Linked DNA regions of Homo sapiens: all the other regions are linked to region 2. The links are contacts of gene promoters, found by promoter capture Hi-C in human tissues and cell types (Jung and others, 2019). All regions are on one chromosome and are shown on one strand. Each heading gives the region's core, a stretch centred on a gene start or on the middle of the fragment in contact. The rest is flanking DNA. Distances are from core to core; before and after follow the strand shown. Region 1 holds the start of ZNF555 (zinc finger protein 555). Region 2 holds the start of TCF3 (transcription factor 3). Region 3 overlaps TPGS1 (tubulin polyglutamylase complex subunit 1).

Region 1 (4,810 bases), core at 2,111-4,610, 1.2 Mb before region 2:
GGTAGAGACACCTGTGCAGTGGGCTAGGGGGTGGACGCAGGAAGAGCCAACCCAAAGGCCTGAGGGCCCCTAACCTTAGAAAGTCCTGCCTGCAAAGTTGGCCCTTGGCTGGCATAAGCTAGCCTGGATTTGGGGAGGGTTCTCATCCCAATAGAGGAGTTGCTTATTGTGCTGAAACTGTTTATGCAACAATGTGTTTACCCTAAAGATCTGCTTTCCTCCTGGGTGTCTGAAATCTTGGCACAGCCAGGCACAGGGGACCTCTGTGACCAGCCGCCAATTTTAAAACACCCTGGTTGGGGGCATGGTGGTTCACACCTATAATTCCAGCACTCGGGGAGGCTGAGGCGGGCGGGCCACCTGAGGTCAGGAGTTCGAGACCAGCCTGGCCAACATGGCAAAACCCTGTATCTGCTAGAAATACATAAAAATGGCCAGGTGCAGTGGCTCCCGCCTGTAATCCCAGCACTTTGGGAGGCTGAGGCGGGCAGATCAACTGAGGTCAGGAGTTCGAGACCAGCCTGGCCAATGTGGTGAAAGCCCATTTCTACTAAAAATACAAAAATTAGCTGGGCGTGGTGGCGGATGCCTGTAATCCCAGCTACTCAGGAGGCTGAGGCAGGAGAATTGCTTGAACACAGGAGGCAGAGATTGCAGTGAGCCAAGTTCCTGCCACTGCACTCCAGCCTGGGCGAAAAGGGTGAAACTCCCTCTTTAAAAAAAAAAAAAAAAAAAAGAAAAGAGAGAGAGAGAAAGGAAAGAGGGAGAAAGAAAAAAAAGAAAAGAAAAGAAAGATAGATTAGGCAGGCATGGTAGCAGGTGCCTACAGTCCCAGCTACTTTAGAGGCTGAGGCAGGAGAATCACTTGAACCCAGTAGGCAGAGATTGCAATGAGCCGAGACAGCACCACTGCATTCTAGCCTGGGCAATAGAGCGAGACCCTGTCTCAAAACAAAACAAAACAAAAAAACAAAGTAAAGGGACACAGCCCTGAGGCAGCCCCTGTGTTCGGGGAAATCTGATCAGTGCCAGGGCCGGCATTGCAGAGGATAAACACTTTAATATAAGGAGCTGGGACAAATTGTCATCTAAACAAGAAAAATATCTTGTATTCTACCTATTTCAGGAACAACAAAAAATGTATTATAGAATTAAGGTAAGGGTACTGCAGTATTGGAAGCAGAACAGAATCATCCACCGTCAAAAATTCTCTACCATGTCAAGGAGAATAACATATTTTGGTAAATTTGTATAATTTATCTGCAACATGTTTCGTGGCAATGTATTCATTTTTCTGCACGTATGGTGGAAAGGAGATTTTCTCTGTTTCTCTGAGACTCTTCTCCCCAGTAACATTTTGAAGTTTAGGCCCTGGAATCCTATTTATTGTCATTCAAAAGAAAAGAACAAGGCTGGTCGAGGAGGGAGAATCACCTGAGCTCAGGAGTTCGAGACCAGCCTGGGTAACAGAATGAGACCCCATCCCTAGAAACAAAAAAATACAAAAGCTTAGGCATGGCGGCACACACCTGGAGTCCCTGTGTTCAGAAGGCTGAGGCAGGAAGATTGCTTGAGCCCAGGAGGTGGAGGCTGCAGTGAGCTGTGATCGCACCAGTGCACTCCAGCATGGGCAACAGAGCTCCCAAAAAAATAATAGTAATAAAAGAAAACAGAAAATAACAGATCTGAGAAACGACACACACTCCAGGGAATGTTTAACAAATGGAATGTAAGACACAGATTTTAATTTTTTTCCTGAAATTCACCCCGTTGGAAGTTTTTTTTTTTTTTTGAGACGGAGTCTCGCTCTGTCACCCAGGCTGGAGTGCAATGGCGCGTTCTCAGCTCACCGCAACCTCCGCCTTCTGCGTTCAAGTGATTTTCCCGCCTCAGCCTCCCGAGTAGCTGGGACTACAGGCACCCGCCACCACGCCCAGCTAATTTTTGTATTTCTAGCAGAGACGGGGTTTCTCCATGTTGGCCAGGCTGGTCCCCAACTCCTGACCTCAAGTAATCTGCTCCCCTCGGCCTGTCACAGTGCTGGGATGACAGGCTTGAGCCACCGCGCCCGGCCTGGAAATATTTTATCTTCCAACTTCTACTAATTAAATGTACGTTTCACTTCCTAAAAACTGCTGACTCGAAAAAAGGAAAATCTTTTCACAGTGACAAACCCAGGGAGGGGTCAAGTCTGGCCAGGCTACCACGACGGACGCCCTCCCACCCCCAACTCAGGTGTTGCCTCAGCAAGGAATCCCATTGCTAGTACTCAAAACAGAACTGAGAAACGTCTTCAAATCCACACTTTCTAGGGAACCGTGAAAGAATATATTTCCGTGGTTTTAGCCCCCTCGTTTGCAGTCAGTTGCTACAGCAGTCCGAGGACACTAATGCACCAGCCTCCCGGGCGTCCCCGCTGTGGGTCTGCGTGCGTTTGCTTTTGGGGTCCTCGCTCTCCCTTGTTTCTCTAGTCTTTTCAGTTACTTTTCTTCCTTGTGTGTGAGAGCCCAGGGACCAGGAACCCTTGTTTTTTTTCCCCTTACCTACCCCAGGCATCTTGGGGTCAGAGGGGACAAGAAGTCCTCAAGAAGGAAAACCGGGACTCAGGGGAGGAAACCTCGCACGCCCCAGGGGCTGCCTTTGCAGGTGGGGGCGTCTCCGCCCCCGCCGAGGCCCCACCGCTCCCGGGCTGTCCCGGGAGGAACCCAGGGTCCCCCAGAGACCGCGGCCGGAGGCGCGGGGCCTCCAAGGAGCTGAGCCGCGGGAGCGCGAGCGGAGGCGGCACCGACCAGGGACCCGCACCCCAGGAGGCACCGCGGCGTCGGCCCCAGGGCGGGTCCCGGGGGAGCCTGGACCGCACCTCGGGGTCTCGGGCGACTCTGCCTCCCGCGGCCCGGGGGTCCCGAAGCCGCAGCGAAACGCTCCGAGGCGTCGCGGCCCCGGGCGGGGCGTGGGGGGTCGGGAGCGCAGGGACGCGGGGACCCCGGGACGACGGGGACGGAGTCGGGCTCCGGGCGCCGCTCCCCGCTCTGCAGCCTTGGGGCCAGAGGCGGGCGGGGACCCGGAGCTCGGAGCGCCCTAGCCGCGACCTCAGCGCGGGAGGCGGGGCCGGGCGGGACCCCCGGGGCCCAGGCTCCCGTCCTGCGCCGCCCTCGCCGGGGCCGCCCCCCGCGTCCCTCAGCTCCCCCCAAGCCGCGGTCTCGGGCGGTCGCCGGTTCCTGCTGCCCCGCACCGGGATCCTCTCCTGCGCCACACTCACCATGTCCCGGGGCGATTTCTTCGCTACCGGCGCAGGTGAGCGCGACAGGAACCGGGACGCCAGGGACCGCTAGGGGCAGGCGGGGCACTCACGGCTAGGACAGAGGCGTCCCGTCCCAGGGGCCTGATTAGACAGAGCTCGGGAAGCCGCGCTTCTGATTGGACAGTGCTGCCAACGTCGGCGACTCTGATTGGAGAATTCCCCAGTCCGTCCCCTGGCGCTGTAAATTGGGCAGTTCCCCGGATTCCGATTGGGCGTCCCTCATTGGATACTTGTCTCGGCCCCGCCCCCGCCCGTCCTGACTGGGTAGTTCCCTAGGGCCCACCCCCTGCCGGTGAGTGACGGGAGCGTTGCGAACACGCGTGGCTGTCCCGCCCTGCGGGGACACTGGCTTCTGGGCGAACTGGTTTCAGCCCGGGGCGGAATCGCCCTCTCCCCGCAGTTCGGGCGCCCCGCCCGCGTCCTCCTCCGGGACGGGCGTGGGAACTCCAGACTAGTTTCCTCACGAGGCGACCCCTTGTCCGGACAGGAGGTGGATGCAAGCGGGCGGCCCGGGCCTGGCAGGGCGAACGGGGGCTGGGCGCCGGGTCCGAAGGGCCGAGACCTACGTGGGGGCGGGACCCGCAGACGTGACGTCATCGCGCTGCGGGCGACATGGAGACCCCGCCCAGGGGGCTGCGAATCCGGAGACCCGGTCTGGGGGAGGCCGAACCCAAAGCCTGGCAGGGGGCAGGAGCTTTGCTCAAATCAACCAGAAGATATGAGATGTTCATTAAAACCCTCACATTTGGCTGGGCGCAGTGGCTCACGCCTGTAATCCCAGCACTTTGGGAGACCGAGGTGGACGGATCATCTGAGTTCAGGAGTTTGAGACCATCGTGGCCAATATGGTGAAACCCTTTCTCTACTAAAAATACAGAAATCAGCCCGGCGTGGTGCCGGGCGCCTGTAATCTCAGCTACTGGGGATGCTGGGGCAGGAGAATTGCTTGAACCCGAGAGGTGGAGGTTGTAGTGACCCGAGATCGCCCCACTGCAGTCTAGCCTGGGCGACAGAGTGAGACTCCATATTAAAAAACAAAAAAACTCTCAAGTTCATATTTTAAACTCTAAGGAAAATGTTTTCAGATCATTTTTTTAAGTACATCCCCCCAAAATTTGGAAGATTGAAAAGCTGGCCGGGCGCTGTGGCTCACGCCTGTAATCCCAGCACTTTGGGAGGCCGAGGCGGGCGGATCACCTGAGGTCAGGAGTTCAAGACCAGCCTGCCCAACATGGCAAAACCCTGTCTCTACTAAAAATACAAAATTAGCCGGGCGTGGTGGCGCGCACCTGTAATCCCAGCTAGGGAGGCTGAGGCAAGAGAATCGCTTGAGGCCGGGCACGGTGGCTCACGCCTGTAATCCCAGCACTTTGGGAGGCCGAGGCGGGCGGATCACGAGGTCAGGAGATCGAGACCATCCTGGCTAACACGGTGAAACCCCGTCTCTACTAAAAAATACAAAAAAATTAGCCAGGCCTGGTGGCGGGTGCCTGTAGTCCCAGCTACTCG
Region 2 (5,025 bases), core at 1,731-4,230:
GGGAAAACAATGGTGGCTTGTGGTTACCAGCGGAACCTCCTGGCAGGCGCGAGCCCCAGGGTGCCCTGGGGCCCAGGGAGGAGACCCCTAGTCTCAGTTTCCTCATCTGTACGATACGTGGAACCACACAGGCAGGAGGACCTCACAGGAAAGAGCCACATTCAGGACTAGACAAGGGGTCCCTCATGGGTCATCCTGCCGGGACAGCAGGGACTGAGTCCATCACTGTCCACAGTGCTACGATGCGCGGCACAAGGCCCCGTTCGCTGTCAGTGCCCGATAATTGAATAGTCTTGTACGGCGCAGTGGCACACGCCTGTAATCCCAGCACTCTGGGAAGCCAAGGCGGGAGGATCACTTGTGCCTAGGAGTTCAAGACCAGCCTGGGCAACATAGGGAGAACCCCGTCTCTACAAAAAATACAAAATTAGCTGGGTGTGGTGGCGCGTGCCTGTGGTCCCAGCTACTCGGGAAACTGAGGCGGGAGGATCGTTTGAGCCCAGGAGGTCAAGGCTGCAGTGAGCTGTGATCTCACCACTGCACTCCAGCCTGGGCAACAGAGCGAGACTCTTTCTCAAAATAATAATAATAATAATAAGAAGAAGAAGAAGAAGAAGAAGAAGAAGAAGAAGTCCGTGATTGGATGGTTGCTTCCCTTCCGTGGGTGAAACTGAAGGGCTCCTCGGGAGGACTCCGGCTGCCACACTATGGCTTGGACCCTGAGTGTGGGTGGGGAGTGGCCCACAGTGAGCTCCCTACACTGGAATGGGGAGAGCCAGACCCGGCCACAGACACCCTCAGACCCATGGGGTCAGGGCTGGGCCACAAGGAAGGGCCGGGGGCTGAGGAGGCTGGGGTGGGATTGGAGCTGCTTGGAGACCCTGGCTCCGGAGAGGCCTCTGCGGGGGTGGGGGGCGGCTGAGGAAGGCAGGCATCAGCTGTGAGCACCTACTGTGTGCCAGACTCCCCCCTTCCACTGTCCAGATGGAGAAACCGAGGCCCGGAGAGTAGCACGAACTTGCCTGAGGTCACAGTGAGGTGGAGAGGGATGAGGGATTTGCAGCACAGACCCTGGGACCCACAGCCCTCTCCCCAGACCTGCGGCACGTGGAACTCTCTGGGCACGGAGGGTCGGACTGTGGACAGCCCAGTTTGGGTGTATAGCAGGAGGGGCTTGTGGCTTTGGTGGGGGGCCCCTGTGGCCCCGCCTCCCCGCCGGCCTGGCATAGGTGCAGCATTGAACTGTGATGACTCAGGGGCTCCAGATAGGGGTGGGAAAAGCCTCCCAGGTAGAGGACAAAGCAAACGTAGAGGCCCGGGGTGGGGATGAGCTTAGCAAGTTCTGGACCATCCAGAGGGCAGGATGGCTGGAGCCAAGCGGGCCAGCGAGATGGTGGCATCTTCCCAGGCTGGGAGTGGAGTGTAAATTTCCCTTTGGGGCCCCAGGGAGCCCTGGGAGATTGTGTTATTTTCATTTATTTGTTTAGTTATTTTACTTTTTTTTTTGAGACGGAGCCTCGTTCTGTCGCCCAGCCTGGAGTGCAGTGCTGCGATCTCTGCTCACTGCAACCTCTGCCTCCTGGGTTTAAGCGATTCTCCTGCCTCAGCTTCCCGAGTAGCTGAGATTATAGGTGTATGCCACCACGCCCAGCTAATTTTTGTATTTTTATTTTATTTTACTTATTTATTTATTTATTTTGAGACGGAGTTTCGTCCTTGTTGCCCAGGCTGGAGTACAATGGCGTGCTCTCGGCTCATTGCAACCTCCGCCTTTCGGGTGAAAGCGATTCTGCTGCCTCAGCCTCCCGAGTAGCTAGGACTACAGGTGCCCGCCACCATGCCCGGCTAATTTTTGTATTTTTAGTAGAGATGGGGTTTCACCGTGTTGGCCAGAGAGGTCTCGAACTCCTGACTTCAGGTGATCTGCCCGCCTTGGCCTCCCAAAGTGCTGGGAATACAAGCGTGGGCCACCGCGTCCGGTCAACTTTTTAAATTATTATTTTAAATTATTTTAAATATTTTTAGAGACGGGTGTGGGTGGGGGGGGTTTCACTATGTTGTTCAGGCTGTTCTCGAACTCCTGGCCTCAAGCGATCTTCCCGCCTCGGCCTCCTTCAAAGCGCTGGGATCACAGGCAGGAGCCACGGCGCCCGATCCTAGGCGGGGTCACTTTTTACTAAAATGTAGACACGGACTACTAAGAATCAGGAAGCCAGATCTGGCCTGAGTTCTGTCCAAAGTCAGGTCCAAATTCACAGATGCCGAGACGGAGACTCAAGTCGGCAAAGGCACCGCTGAGACTCCCCGCGGGGCTCTCTGACCCAGAGCCGGAGCCAGAGTCGGTTTTCCCGCCGGGAAAATGGGTCTGACGTAGCCCCCTCGGGGCCGTGATACCCGCTCGCACCACTCAGCACGCGGGGCCGGCCCGAGGAACGCAAATATAACCAAGCAGAAGGCTCCGCGCGGGCGGCCACGCCAACCTGAGAACAAAACTCCAGGACCCACCCCGGCCGCCTCTCGCGGCCTCTCGCTCGCAGAGTCCCGCCTCTGCTGAGGGGCGGGGCCGAGAAGAAAGGAGGCGGGGCCTCACCACGAATGGCTAGGATCCCCGCCCATCAGACTTTCGCGGCTTCCGATTGACCAGACTGCTCTGCCTTAGCTTTCAATCTCACGGGCCTTACTCGCTTGCGTCATGGACTAAGCGCACAGCTCGTGTGTGCTTCCGCGGACGGGGATAGTCCGTGATTTCTCCCCGCGCCGTGGCCCGACCGCCTCCTCTGCGCGTCCCCGCTCCCAGGCTCTGGACCTCACGGGATTCGGGGTCCTCACGAGGGTGCTCGAGAGGCCGAGCTAGGGCGTTCGGGCCCGAGCCGCCCGGAGGTGGCGGAGGGATCCGCGTGGGCCGCCGGGCGGGGCACTCGGGGGCGGGGCAGGGGCGGGGCCTGCACGGGGCGGGGCGGGGCGGCGCGGGCGGGGGGCGGAACATGTCTCCCGCCGCAGGAAGATGAGGCAGCGGCGGCGGCTGCGGGCGTAGCGGGCCGGAGCCGACGCGGCGGCGGGCACCGCGGGCACCGCGCACGCCGCTGCCCCAGGGGCGCCCCGGCCGGCCGCGCGCACGGGCCCCGCGGGACGGGCCACGCGGGGGTGGGAGGGGCCCGGGCCACGCGCGCCGCCGCCGCCGCCCACGCGCGACCCTCGGGGGCCCGGCCGCGACGCACCTTTGTCCGGGGGGGGGCCCCCCCGCTTCATGCCGCCGCCCCCCCCCACGCGCCGCGTGCCCGGCCGCGCCCAGCAGGTGAGCCCGGCGGGGGGCGGGGGGCGCGCCCGGTACCCCCGTGCTTTGTGCCCAGGGAACCCCGGCCCGCCCCGCGCGCGCTTGTTGGGGGGGGGCGCGGAGGAAGTTGGGGCGGGGGCGGTGTCGGGGGGCGCCCCGCGGCCCGGGAGTCATTGTTCTCCAACTTCGCGCGGCGCCGGGGGGGCGGCGACGTGGAGGAGCCCGGAGCTCGCCAGGCCCGCGTCGCCCCCGTCGGGCCGGGCACTTCGGGAAACTTTAAGCAGCCCCGGGCGGGGGCGCGGGGGGCGCCGGACGGGCTGTGCAACTTAGGCGCGAGGACCGTCCCCCCCAGCCCGGGCGCACGGGGACCCCGGGGCGCCCCCTTTCTCGGGTAGAGGGGGGCCCGGCCCGGGCGCCGGAGTTTGGGGTGGGGAGCGCGCGGGAGGGACGTCCTTTTGTCTGCGCGGGGAAGGTGCCGCGCGCTGCAGGCGCTGGTCGGGGCCGGGCGGGCCGGGGGGGGGCGCGCGGGTAACATCTGCTCCGCGTTAATGCGGGGCGAGGCGGCGGCCGCGCTGCGAGCTTCAAAGGCTCCCGGGCCGCACCGCCTGCACCGGCTGCGGGGGGAGGGGGGTCCGGCTTCCCGGGCCGCCTCCCCCCGGGAAAAAGGCGTTCCAGCGCGCCCCCCGCCTTCGGCGCCGTGCAAAGTGGCTTCAAACATTCTCCAAGTCTCTCAAAGTCCTTGGGACGCCCCAGAAGTCTTCCAGCTCCCGTAGAATGCCCGTTTTAGCTCGCCACCCCCCCAACTAAGTCTGTCTTAAAATCGGTTTCAGCTACCCCACAAAAAAGTGCGGTTTCGTAGTCCTCAAAAAAAGTCAGTTTCACACGCCCTCCAAAAAAGAAAAAAACTGAGCGGGGGAGGGGCTGCGCTGGGGCGCCCGCTTCACACCCGGCCTCCAGTTGGCAGACAAAGAGGGGATTTCTCTGCTTCTGAAGTTGGGTCTCCCTCGACCTCGGAGGCTCCTCCCCACCCCCAGCCTCGGAGGTGTCTCCCGGGCTGCCCCCGTCCCCACCTGGGGACCCCTGGGGAAAGTCGAGACTGGAGGGGCCTGGAGTGCATTTCTTTGGAATGGAAATTTTTCTCTGTACCTTTTTCTGGGGGTGGAATGGGTCTTGGCAGGTGGATCCCCCATCCCCCATCTTAGAATGGAGCCCCCTGGGACCACGCGGGAGCACCCTGGTCTTGAGACGCTCTCCCCGCTCATGGAGGGCAGGCAAGGGATGTTGTCAAAGTTTTGCTTAAAAATAATTCCCGGATACATCGCGACAGTAAAGCAATCTAGGGCTGTTTTTTTTTTCTTTCCTGAATACTGTTGGGGTTTTCTTGGGGGGAGGGAGATTGAGGGTGGAGGAAAGCTTTGCTGGTCCCTGCATAGGATGCGCGTCCCCCCCACCCCCGGCACTTTAAGTCTTGAAGCTTGTAAAAGAGTTTCGTGGTTTTCTGACTTGTGGATTTCCTTCATGTTGAATTTGGGGGCGACCTGGTCTTCAACGGGCTGTGCCATCTGCTGGGGGAGGGGGGAATCACCAAATTTCCCTCGGGGCGGGGTAGGATCGGGCTGTTCCTCCCTTTCCCGGGGGTAGGGGGCCTCAGAGGAAGCCCGGGGTTGGTTGGAAATGAGAGAGTTGGAGAAAGGAGAGGTTCTGGCTGCCCTGCGTGCAGTTTAAACTTGGCAACTTGATGCCCTGGTGTT
Region 3 (4,397 bases), core at 406-2,905, 1.1 Mb after region 2:
AACCTGGGAGGCAGATGTTGCAGTGAGACGAGATTGAGCCACTGCACTCGAGCTTGGGTGACAGAGCGAGACTCCGTCTAAAAAAAAAAAGAAGGCCAGGCACGGTGGCTCACGCCTGTCATCCCACCACTTTGGGAGGCCGAGGCAGGCGGATCATGAGGTCAGGAGATCGTGACCATACTGGCTAACACGGTGAAACCCCGTCTCTACTAAAAATGCAAAAAATTAGCTGGGCGTGGTGGTGGGCACCTGTAGTCCCAGCTACTCGGGATGCTGAGGCAGGAGAATGGCGAATGGTGTGAACCCAGGAGGCGGAGCTTGCAGTAAGCCGAGATCACGCCACTGGACTCCAGCCTGGGTGATAGAGCGAGACTCTGTCTCAAAAAATTAAAATAAAATAAAATTCTGTTCCCGTGTGTGGTGTTAGAATAGAGAGTAGTTTTCTTCCTCAGTTCCCGGATCATAGCTCCTGAAGCCCTAGTTGCAGTCTTTTGCTGCACTGCTGAGCTCGTTAGGCCTCAGGAAATAATCTCCCGCCCTCCTCTGGGCTGCAGAGCTCTAATCTTACCTTTTCGATTACGGGTCTTGGGACCCTCCCCAAAGAGGGTCCTGCCCTATACCCCTGGGGAAGTAATGCTGACATCATGAAGCTTCCATAAAATCCCTAGGCCGCGTGTGGTGGCTCACGCCTGTAATCCCAGCACTTTGGGAGGCTGAGGTGGGTGGATCACCTGAGGTCAGGAGCTTGAGACCAGCCTGGCCAACGTGGTGAAACCCCGTCTCTACTAAAAATACAAAAGTTAGCCAGGTGTGGTGGTGGGCGCCTGTAATCCCAGGTACTCAGGAGGCTGAGCCAGAAGAATCGCTTGAACTCAGGAGGGGGAGGTTGCAGTGAGCCGAGATTGCGCCACTGCACTCCAGCCTGGGTGGCAGAGCAAGACTCCGTCTCAAAAATGAACAAACAAACAAAAAACCACGAAACCCTAGAGAACTGGGTTCTGGGGAGCTTCCAAGAGCTGAACATGTGGAGATGCCTGGAAGCTCTGAGATGGTGCCCTGTGCATCCTCATGGCACTCCAATCCCCACCCTACACGTACCTCACCTGTGGTCCCTTCTTCTGCTATCTTTGCCACATCCTTTATAGTAAACCAGGAAACACAAGTGTTTCCGAGTTCAGTGAGCTGCTCCAGCAAATTAATTGAACCCAAAGGGGTGCTGGGAACCCCAACTTGAACCCGGCCAGACCGAAGTCCTGGAAGCCCAGATTCGCAACTGGTGTCTGAAGAGGGAGAGGCTCGGGGACTGAGCCCTCGGCCTGTGGGATCTGACACTATCTCTGGGTAGAAGGCGTCAGAGCTGAATTAAGAGGACACCCGGCTGGCGTCTGCTGGTTGGTGTGTGGGAAAAAACGCTCCCACATGTGGTCACAGAAGTCTTTTCTGTGTGGATGACTGTGATGTGGCGGTGACAGCAGGGGAGAAACAAGGCTTGAGTGTTCTCTATGTCCGATTGGACCCCCTCCACCAGAACAGGCTGTGGGGACTCCCATTTAACAGGAGACACTGAGGCCAAGGGAGTGAAGTCACCTGCCAGCAACTGGAGCTGGAGTTCTGGATTCACTTTTTATTTTTTTATTTTTTTGAGACGGAGTCTCGCTCTGTCACCCAGGCTGGAGTGCAGTGGCGCGATCTCGGCTCACTGCAAGCTCCGCCTCCTCGGTGCACGCCATTCTCCTGCCTCAGCCTCCAGAGTAGCTGGGACTACAGGTGCCCGCCACCACGCCCGGCTCATTTTTTGTATTTTTAGTAGAGACAAGGTTTCACCATGTTAGCCAGGATGGTCTCCATCTCCTGACCTCGTTATCCACCTGCCTCTGCCTCCCAAAGTGCTGGGATGACAGGCGTGGGCCACTGCGTCTGGCCTGTTTTTTTTTTGTTGTTGTTGTTTTGTTTTTGAGACAGGGTCTCACTCTGTCGCACAGATTGGAGTGCAGTGGCTCAATCTCGGCTCACTGCCACTTCTGCCTCCTGGGTTCAAGTTATTCTCCTGCCTCAGCCTCCTGAGTAGCTGGGATTACAGGCGCCTGCCACCACAGCCCAGCTTTTTTTTTTTTTCGTATTTTTAGTAGAGACAGGGTTTCACCATGTTGGTCAGGCTGATCTTGAACTCCTGACCTCAAGTGATCCGCCGCCTTAGCCTCCCAAAGTGCTGGGGTTACAGGTGTGAGCCACCACGCCCGGCTGGATTCGCTCTTGCAGTCTGAGAAGTGATTCTGGTTGGTGGTGGTGGGCACTGGGGGATACCGGACGACCCTCCCCACCGGTGGCGAGTGGGCTGCGTTCTGGAGCAGGCCGGGCGCAGATCCCAGCTGAGCCCTTGCTGAGGGTGTAACCTCCGCTGCCTGGGCCTGGGAATCAATCACATGAGGCACTTCAGTTCCTGGGAAGTGTTAGGGCTGTTGTCTCACCAATGTCACTACCATCTGCCCAGCTGGCCTCTTCATTTGACATCTGGGGAGACTGAGGCTCAGGGAGGATACCTGGGCCGGGCGGGGCTGGAGGGCCCGGGCCCTGCGTTCCAGAAGAGCCGCCTGCTCTCCGGCTTCAGGCTCCGCAGGGCCCCGTGGGGCGTCCCCCTCCGCTGCTCCCACCAGGCCGGGTCCAGGGGTCCCGGCGTTTCCGGCCTCGAATCCAGCCTCCAGTCGCCGCGGTTCCGGGGCCGTGGGTGACCTGCTGGGGAAAAGCGTCTTCTGCGGGCACCGGGGCTGGGAGGCGGGCGCTCGCATACACACCAGCGTCAGCCTCGCAACACATTTTATTAGCGTGGGGCAGGGGCTCCCGCGGGGGTGGAGGGGCGGCCGCGGCGCTGTGTGGGGACCGGGCGTCCGCTTCCTGGGAGCCCCGGCCTCCTCCGCAGGGCTGGGCGCCTGGTTATGGCAGGGCCTCACCAGGGCGAAGGGAAGGCTCCGCGCGCCCCGCACGCGGGGACCCCCCAGCGCAGATCCCGGATCCGCGCGGCCCACGGGCCTCAGCCCACCGGCTTGACCTTCGCGATGAAGAGCGCGGCGGCCCTCTCCAGAAACTCCTCGCGGGTCATGGGCGCGCTGGGCCGCCGCCCCCCGACGGCGCGGTCCAGCGCCAGCGCCAGGCTGTCGGGCCCCAAGCGCGAGCCGGCCTCCAGGAAGCGCGCGGGCGCGGCGGCGTCGCTGGCCTGCAGCGCGCCCTCCAGGGTGTCCAGCACGGCCTGGCCCACGCGGCGGTCGGCCACGGCGGCGGCCGAGTCCTCCAGCAGCTGGAAGAGCGCGCCGGCGCGCGCCACGAACTCCAGCAGCACGAAGCAGGTGAGTGTGCCCGCGCGGAAGACGCTCAGCGGCACCGCCTCGTGGTCACGGCACTGCACCTTGCGCAGCAGCGGCGCCACCACCTCCTCGGGGGCTTGGCCGTCCCGGCAGATGCGCCTGAGCAGCTCGCTGTAGGTGCGCCCGTCCAGCCCCGGCCTCTTCCTGCGCCCGCCGGCGCTCAGGCACTCGTAGGCCACGCTCACGTTGTTGTTGAAGGCGGCCCTGCGGAGACGGGGACGTTGGGGGCCGGCAGAGACCGCGCGCCCACCCAGCCCCAGCCTCCCCTCCTCGCCAGGCCTATGCCCTAGCCTCCCCGACCCCCCAGCCAGCCCTGGCCTCCCCTCTCCTCCTACCCCCCATCCCCGGCCTCCCCTCCTCCTCACCCTCTATCCCTGAAGCTCCTCTCTTGAGCCCCCGCCTCCCTTCTCCCAGCTAGGGCCTCTCCTCCCCGCAGCATCCCCAGCCCGGGCCTCTCCTCCCCCAAGCATCCCCAGCCCGGGCCTCTCCTCCCCCCAGCATCCCCAGCCCAGGCCTCCCTCCTCCCAGTCCCCTCCCAGCCCAGGCCTCCCTCCCCCAAGCATCCCCAGCCTGGGCCTCTCCTCCCCCAGCATCTCCAGCCCAGGCCTCCTCCTCTCAGCCCCCTCCCAGCCCTGGCCTCTCCTCCCCCCAGTATCCCAAGCCCAGGCCTCCCTCCTCCCAGCCCCTACCCAGCCCGGGCCTCCCTCTTCCCAGCCCCTACTCAACCTGGGCCTCCCCTCCCCACCCCACCAGCACTCCCAGCCTGGGCCTCCCTCCTCCCAGCCCCTACCCAGCCTGGACCTCCCCTCCTCCCAGCTCCCACCCAGCCTGGCCTCCCTCCTCCCAGCCCCTACCCAGCCGGGGCCTCCCTCTTCCCAGCCCCTACTCAACCTGGGCCTCCCCTCCCCACCCCACCAGCACTCCCAGCCTGGGCCTCCCTCCTCCCAGCTCCCACCCAGCCTGGCCTCCTTCCTCCCAGCACCCCCCAGCCCGGGGCTCCCTCCTCCCAGCACCCACCCAGCCAGGCCTTCCTCCTCC

Evidence for each region. Contacts are between HindIII fragments. The study calls those that stand out against the background at their distance.
Region 1: a contact is called between the fragment with the promoter of ZNF555 here and the fragment with the promoter of TCF3 in region 2, in 1 of the 25 tissues and cell types used here (small bowel).
Region 3: a contact is called between a fragment that was not itself captured here and the fragment with the promoter of TCF3 in region 2, in 1 of the 25 tissues and cell types used here (heart left ventricle).

The regions. Positions count from the first base shown.
Region 1 is chr19:2,840,025-2,844,834 of GRCh38, reverse strand. It overlaps ZNF555 (zinc finger protein 555), which reads right to left and starts at 3,360. Exons shown (of 4, transcript NM_152791.5): 1 at 3,260-3,360. The coding sequence starts at 3,262. RefSeq lists silencers at 2,980-3,029, 3,070-3,369, 3,590-3,779, 3,790-3,899. The HindIII fragment of the contact is 15,507 bases long and covers 1-4,810 here.
Region 2 is chr19:1,650,570-1,655,594 of GRCh38, reverse strand. TCF3 (transcription factor 3) reads left to right here and starts at 2,980. Exons shown (of 19, transcript NM_003200.5): 1 at 2,980-3,295. RefSeq lists enhancers at 2,242-2,351, 2,472-2,521 and silencers at 2,812-2,861, 2,872-3,001, 3,532-3,611, 3,702-3,931, 3,739-3,961 and 1 more. The HindIII fragment of the contact is 17,847 bases long and covers 1-5,025 here.
Region 3 is chr19:518,055-522,451 of GRCh38, reverse strand. TPGS1 (tubulin polyglutamylase complex subunit 1) reads right to left here. Exons shown (of 2, transcript NM_033513.3): 2 at 2,798-3,563. The coding sequence ends at 3,029. Among named protein-coding and RNA genes, the nearest start is that of CDC34, 12 kb to the left of the region's middle. RefSeq lists an enhancer at 3,088-3,994. The HindIII fragment of the contact is 4,635 bases long and covers 1-3,972 here.